Regions from separate parts of the Homo sapiens genome. Here region 2 is linked to region 1. Evidence: promoter capture Hi-C in 16 types of primary human blood cells and fetal thymus (Javierre and others, 2016). All regions are on one chromosome and are shown on one strand. The core of a region is centred on a gene start or on the middle of the fragment in contact, and the rest is flanking DNA. Distances in the headings are between cores, read along the strand shown. Region 1 holds the start of C15orf62 (chromosome 15 open reading frame 62). Region 2 has its middle 28 kb from the start of CHST14.

What was found. Contacts are between HindIII fragments. The CHiCAGO score rates a contact against its expected background, and 5 or more counts as called.
Region 2: a contact is called between a fragment that was not itself captured here and the fragment with the promoter of C15orf62 in region 1, in 1 of 17 cell types (naive B cells). The highest score is 7.4, in naive B cells.

The regions. Positions count from the first base shown.
Region 1 is chr15:40,768,311-40,771,851 of GRCh38, forward strand. C15orf62 (chromosome 15 open reading frame 62) reads left to right here and starts at 1,670. Exons shown (of 1, transcript NM_001130448.3): 1 at 1,670-3,541. The coding sequence starts at 2,186. The coding sequence ends at 2,713. The region is part of intron 10 of DNAJC17 (DnaJ heat shock protein family (Hsp40) member C17); the gene reads right to left. RefSeq lists enhancers at 331-949, 1,568-2,186, 2,140-2,229, 2,187-2,803. The HindIII fragment of the contact is 5,370 bases long and covers 1-3,183 here.
Region 2 is chr15:40,497,240-40,500,774 of GRCh38, forward strand. No RefSeq gene overlaps it. Among named protein-coding and RNA genes, the nearest start is that of CHST14, 28 kb to the left of the region's middle. The HindIII fragment of the contact is 5,436 bases long and covers 1-3,535 here.

The DNA of each region.
Region 1 (3,541 bases), core at 420-2,919:
CTCCGGTCCATCTGTTTCTCAGGAATCACCTGCGGGCCCTCTAAGCCAGGCCCTCGTCTCCCTTCATTTCCTCTGGGCCCTTTACCCTTCACCCCTTTCCCTCTACCCCGTAGCTTCTGCCTCTTAGGTTCCCAAGGAAGGGAAGTTGTCTGAGGAGCAGGGATGCACTTGGCTCTGCTGGGCACTGACCCTGGCACTCTCTATGCCCGGTGCCCTGTGGTCTGGCTCTTGCTGAGGATGCAGAAGGGAGCCCTACCCGAGGCAGCCCGGAATGCCCCACCCTCGAAGGGGAAAAAGGCAAGCATGAGGCCAGCGTGCCTCTAAAACTACACACCAGGGCTCCTGGAGGGCAGGGCCCATAATCAAAAGAATAATAAACAACCATCTGAATGGGCCAAGGCTGTAGGGTGGAGAAGCAGCTCTACAGCGGGACCTAAGCTGCCAACCCACGCCCTGATAAGGTCTGCGGTGGGAATTAAACCTTTTCCTCCCTCGGTGCCGCTTAGGCTGTGTGATGATCATGTGGTCCCAACAGCTTCTCAGAGAAGTGTGAAGCACACCTGAGTTGGCACAGAAGTGAGCTAGGCCAGGGATTGCAAGATGCGGTGGCCTGCCCGTAGCAGAGAGCTGTGGGGCCCTGATCCGCGGTACCCCGCATGGGGACGCTGTCACAGAGCAAGGCAGGAGGAAAATGTGGTGGTCAGTGACCCGGGGAATAGGAAGGGAGCAGCTAGGGTTGAGATGCCAGGCCCTGGCCAGCAGGTTTGGAGTAAGGGGTGTAGAGAAACAGGAAGTGTTACTCAGCCTGGGTTCCCCTGTTCCTCCCGATGGCTGCACCCCTCCCCTCTCCCCGGCTGCAGCAGTCCCAGCTAGGCCGGACTGCTAAGCCTGGCCCAGAGCACGGCTGACAATTCACGGCAGCCTCCCTGGCCCAGCCTCCTGCAAGAGAAGGAGGACCCCAGAGGAAGCCCGGTAGCCAGAGGGGAAGGGCTGGAGCACAGCCAGGTAGGAGGCAACACGGCCCGGCCTTCAGCAGCCGCTCTCCTGGCAGGAGCCCTCTAGGGTAAAACAAGGGAGGACAAGGAAATAGCAGCCAGGCTGATGGCAGGCCAAGAGGAGGCCACATCTCCCATCCCCAGGTTAATGCTGCTCTGCCAAGAAAACTTGGAGCCACCCTTGGCGGGCCCCCAGCCCAACCCTGGGCAGCAGAGCCCGCCCATCACAGGCATGGCGCTGCTCCCCATTAACACACCCTCTGCCCCCCTTCCTGTTCCTGCTCGTGAGGGCCTGACAGCGGGGCTGAGTCACCCATACCAGCTACAGGTCTCTTCCTTCCCCAACAATCGTTCCACACGCCTGCCTTTCAATTAACTCCCACCCGCCCCGAACTCTTCCTACCCAGACACTGTGGGCAGGGAGCCAGGCGCACCTGCTGGGGGCCCAGGGTGGTGGGGCTGTGATCAGAAAGGAAGCCGCGTGGTGACACATAAAGCAGGGCTGCCCCCACACGAGTCCCCAGAGGAATCTTAAGCTCCCCATTGCCCTGGGGTGTTGGTCCCAGCTGCCCCATCCCTGCACGCGGATGCTGCAATTACCCAAGAGCACGAAACCTGGCTTCCCACCTGACTGAGTCAGCTGAGAACAAAAACACATCTCCACCGCCACAAACAGCCAGGCCACTCATCAGAGTCCGGGAGCCACTGGCAGAGAGGGCACGGCCCCACACTGCCCCAGAGACATATAGGAGCCAGGCAAACACCAGGGCGAGTGAGCTCGGGCCATCTGCTGCCTGCCTGTGGAAGGAGCGCTCGCCAGCCTCACCCAGCCCGAGAAGGTCCACCTCTGCCTCCGCCGGAGCTGCCCTCATTCTGGCTCCAGTAAGTGCTGCTTCTTCCTCCTGGGTTTTTTTCCACTACCCTATTCAGTAACCAGGCCACTCCTGTCCCTGTGGGAAACTCTTGCTGCCAGGAACTCCCAGCTGTCTGCTCTCCTGGGCAAAAAAGTTCCTTCTTCCTGAGCCCTCCTCTCACCATCCAAGATGTGGTCAAAGGTCTGTGCTGAGTGGAAACCCTGAGGCCTCTGCTCCTAGGGGAGCCTCCCCAGCTGCTGGCACTCACTGCCCCAGCAGGGACCACATGCACCCTGGCTGCTCCTGAACACCTGTCTGCTGGCTCCCCTGGGCCCCATGGAGACCTGGCGGAAAGGCTCCTTCCGCAACGCCTCCTTCTTCAAGCAGCTGAGCCTGGGGCGGCCACGGCGGCTCCGGCGACAGAGTAGTGTGCTTAGCCAGGCCAGCACAGCAGGTGGGGACCACGAGGAGTACAGCAACCGAGAAGTCATCCGGGAGCTACAAGGGAGGCCAGATGGCCGGCGCCTGCCACTGTGGGGGGACGAGCAGCCCCGGGCCACCCTGCTGGCCCCACCCAAGCCCCCACGCCTCTACCGAGAGAGCTCAAGCTGCCCCAACATCCTGGAGCCCCCACCTGCCTACACAGCAGCCTACTCTGCCACCCTGCCATCGGCGCTCTCTCTGTCGAGTGCCCTCCACCAGCACTCAGAGAAGGGCCTTGTGGACACTCCCTGCTTCCAGAGGACACCTACCCCAGACCTCAGTGATCCCTTCCTCTCCTTCAAAGTGGACCTGGGGATTTCACTTCTTGAGGAAGTTCTGCAGATGCTAAGGGAGCAGTTTCCTAGCGAGCCCAGCTTCTAAATGGGGTGAGGGTGGGCAAAGCCGGGGTGACTGGAAGATCCAGAGGCTGGGGATTAAGGAAAGGACAGGGACAGGACTCCAGGCCCATCGCTGGAGGGTTCAGGCAGGCAGAGCTTCTTCATCCTGGGGGAGGATTCCAGGATAGGAATCCAGGGCTCTGCCTGCTCTCTGGGTCCTGGACAGTCCTTCCAGGCACCCCAGAGTGGAGGGACAGAGGCAATCTGGAAATGTTGGGGGGGCGGCCCTTCCTGGCAGGACCCTGAAGAAAGCTGGCTATGCCGGGAAAGGGAGGCTGTGCCGGGAAAGGGAGGCTCTGTGCGGCACTACAGGAACCAGGTAGAGGCTGGCAGAGCCAGAAGGTGGCACGGGGTCAGATCAGGGAGTGGGAGGACACAGACTGAGCAGAAGAGATGAGTGCCCCATGCCAGCCTCTTTGGAAGCCACTGTCAACAGAGAGAGGTCACAGGACAAGCTTGGGTAAAGGCAGTCCAACCCAGGCAGAAGAGGAAAGTGGGAAGGCCCAGGAAGAAAGGGGAGAAGGCCTGACCCTGTCTAATCTGGTGGCCACTCACTGCATGACACTGAATTGAAATAAATAAAATTAACAGTTCAGTTCCTCAGCTGCACCGTTATTCCAGATTCCACATTCCAAATGCCCGGTGGCCACACATGATTAATGGCTACCACACTGGTCAGTGCAGAATGGACGTAAACATCGCTGCACAAAGTTCTAATGGACAGCGCTGTCTAGACCATGGCCTGGAGCCACCAGCAAAGGGGAGGCGCATACAGGGGCTGGCCACATAGGAAGAGATAGGTAGAGATAGA
Region 2 (3,535 bases), core at 378-2,877, 270 kb before region 1:
TGTTGAAAATGTCCCCCAGGAGACTGCCACTTGTTTCAAGGGACTATGAGCCATGTTACCTCCCAATTCTGGACATTTTCTAAGCTGTAACATCATGTTTTCGTAATCTGACAACCTGCAGCTCAGTTAATGACATAAAACAATTCCATGATCTCTAAGACAAGCCCCCAGCACATTGAAGTCACTGGATGAGACCTCAGCACCATGGGCCCCTCCTCTCCACTGGGCTGACTCTGCCAACTCACTCTCACCTGAAACTGCCCTTGCTGCTCCTGCCTCTGCCATGTCTACCACTCTGTATAGCTGCCCTTTTCTTACTGCTGTGGCCTCTGGCTGCCAAAAAGAGACAGGGCCACTACCCTGGCCCTCATGACATTCAACTGCAGCTGCCATCTCTGCTAATGTGAGAGGAGGGATGGTTTCTCCACTGACATCAAGCCCAGCTCTCTTGAGTCTGGGCCAGACCTTGAATAGTCTGGCTTGTGAACGAGACACCAGCTAGTTCTTCCAGATGGTGTTCATGTGGCCCAGCGCTCTCCTACCTTAGGACGAGTTCCTGCCCACCCAGCTTGCTTCTCTCAGAAGTTTGGGGCAGCATTTTTCTACCTTTCTTATTTAGGATCCCAACCTTTTTTTTGAGACGGAGTCTCGCTCTGTCACCCAGGCTGGAGTGCAGTGGTGTGATCTCGGCTCACTGGAACTTCCACATCCCAGGTTGAAGTGATTCTCCTGCCTCAGCCTCACAAGTAGCTGGGACTTCAGGGGTGTGCTACCACACCTGGCTAATTTTTGTATTTCCAGTAGAGACGGGGTTTCACCATGTTGGCCAGGCTGGTCTCGAACTCCTGACCTCAGGTGATCCACCCGCCTTGGCCTCCCAAAATGCTGGGATTACAGGCGTGAGCCACTGCGCCTGGCCCCCAGAGCCCAACCTTGAATCCCAGCATCCTCTCTGCCATTTCCCAAGACACCCAGTGGGCCTCTGGATAAAAGACGTTTTTGATAGAGAGTTCTGTTATCCCAGACCCCGAGGTGACCCTAGCATAATCCCTGGACACTCCCCTATGCTGAGGCTTCTCCCCTAGACCCCCATTCTATTACATAGTCTGTGCCCCCTCAGCTCAGTCATTACTTTTCTGGGCAGCCTCCTTTGACCTGCAGACCAGATCAGATCTCTGTGGTTTGCTCCCTGATCACTGTGTCCTTCTCCTCTGTAGCTCTTACCACAGCTTGTAATTCTATATTTGATGCATGTCTATATCCCCCTCTATAAGGTGAGGTCATCAAAGGCAGCAGTTCTGTCTTTCTTGCCTACCACTGCATCTCCAGCATGCTGCTCATCTGGTCCGTGGTAGGGTTCAGTATTTGTTGAAGGAGTGAATGAACTATGATTCACTTCATTACGTGTCGGTCTTTTAAAAACATTTATCTTCAATACACCCGTTTCTCTGTGATGGCAAGTAAAACATTTTTGGAGGCAGTCACTAACCAGCATGCATTGCATGTGTGAGCACCACAATATTTTTATACTTGTGGGTTCGATAATCCAACCACATGCTTTATTAAAGTATTTCTTTCAGGGTTGTAAAAAACACTTCATTACTGGCTTGCGGGCAACCTGGCTCTGGGGGAAAAGGGTCGTGTTACCACACTGCAGATAGGTGAGGATACCAGTGCCAGGCAGGGAGGAGGCTGTGAGGATGCCCAGCCCCTGCTTAGGGATACTGCTTCCCCCCCTTCACTTTTGCAGATTGCAGAGGGCTTGAAGAAGGGATGCAGGCAGTTTGAGCACTGAGTGGCACGTATTCCTGCAATCCCCAAAGTCATGAGGGGGCTCTTTGGAGGGGGTCTCAGAATTGGACTGTATGGTTTGATTTCACGTATTTCTGGGTTTGCTTTGTAGTTTGTCAAGTCATCATACTGTATGCTACTGGCAGATGATAATATGTTAACCAAAAACGACAACAAAGCAGTTGTGATGCGAAGGATGAGGCTAGACTTGGAGTCAGAACCATCATCCAGTACATTGGTTCTTGGCACATAGTGAGAAAGAACCCTTGTGGAATGGAAGGAGAAGCTCCTGGGAAGCAGCGTGTGAAGGTGGAAAGGGTCTTGTTGCCAAGGCAATAACCATTCACTTCCATGGAGCACTGGCCAGGGGCAGGTGCTGTGCTGAGCACTTTGCATGCATGATCCCATTTAACCCCACAGTAATCTATGAGGTTTTTTTTTTTCTTTCTCTTTTTTCTTTTTTAGAGACAGGGTCTTTGTCACCCAAGCTGGAATGCAGTGGTGTGATGATAGCTCATGTGGTCTCAAACTCCTGGGCTCAAATCATCCTCCCACCTCAGCCTCCCGAGTAACTGGGACTACACGTGTATGTCATCATGTCCAGCTAAGTTTTTTGTTTTTTGGGGTTTTTTTCTGAGACAGAGTCTTACTCTGTCACCCAGGCTGGAGTGAAGTGGTGTGATCTCGGCTCACTGCAACCTCTACCTTCTGGGTTCAAGCAATTCTCCTGTCTCAGCCTCACAAAAAGCTGGAATTACAGGCGTGCACCATCACACCTGGCTAATTTTTAAATTTTTAGTAGAGACGGGGTTTCACCATGTTGGCCAGGCTGGTCTCCAACTCCTGACCTCAGGTGATCCGCCCATCTCAGCCTCCCAAAGTGCTGGGATTACAGGCGTGAGCCACCGCGCCCAGCCTTTTTTTAAAAATTATTGTAGAGACAGGTCTTGCTATGTTGCCCAGGCCGGTCTCAAACTCCTGGGCACAAGTGATTCTCCTGCTTCAGCCTTCTGAGTCCCTGGGATTACAGATGAGAACCACTCACCTGGCCAATTAGGGTTCTTATCAACATTTTCCATAATGAAACCATGTGTCAGAGTGAAAAAATGTGCCTGAGGTAACACAGCTAATAAATGTCAGAGCCAGGATTTGAAGCTAGTTCTGTTGGACTTGACATCAATCCACGTAACCTTGGGATACACTGGTTATCAGCTAAGTTGCATTCAAGCCCTTGCTCTTCCATTATGGCTGTGTGTCTTTACCTTATTTCTGTGAAAACATTATGTGCAAAATGTGAATAATAATACCTATGGCAAAATATTTCTGCAAAGATTAAATGAAACTGTGGATGAATACTTTAGAACTATACTGTCTGATACAGCAGCCATTAGCCACATGTAGCTATTGAACTTGGAATATGGCTAGTCTGAATTGAGATGTTTTATAAGTGTAAAAAATACACTGGATTTTGAATACTTAGTGGGAAAAAATGTAAAATTTCTCAGTTTTTCTGTATTGAATACATGTTGAAACGATAATATTTTGGATATACTGGGTTAAATAAAATACATTACTAAAATTAATTTCACCTGTTCCTTTTTACTTTTTAAATGTGATTACTAGAAATTTAAAATTATATATGTGACTCACATTACATTTCTATTGTACAGCACTGCTCTGGAGCCCTATAAATATGATTTATTATTGTTATGGTAATTTCACTCAGAACAATATTCTATTTCAT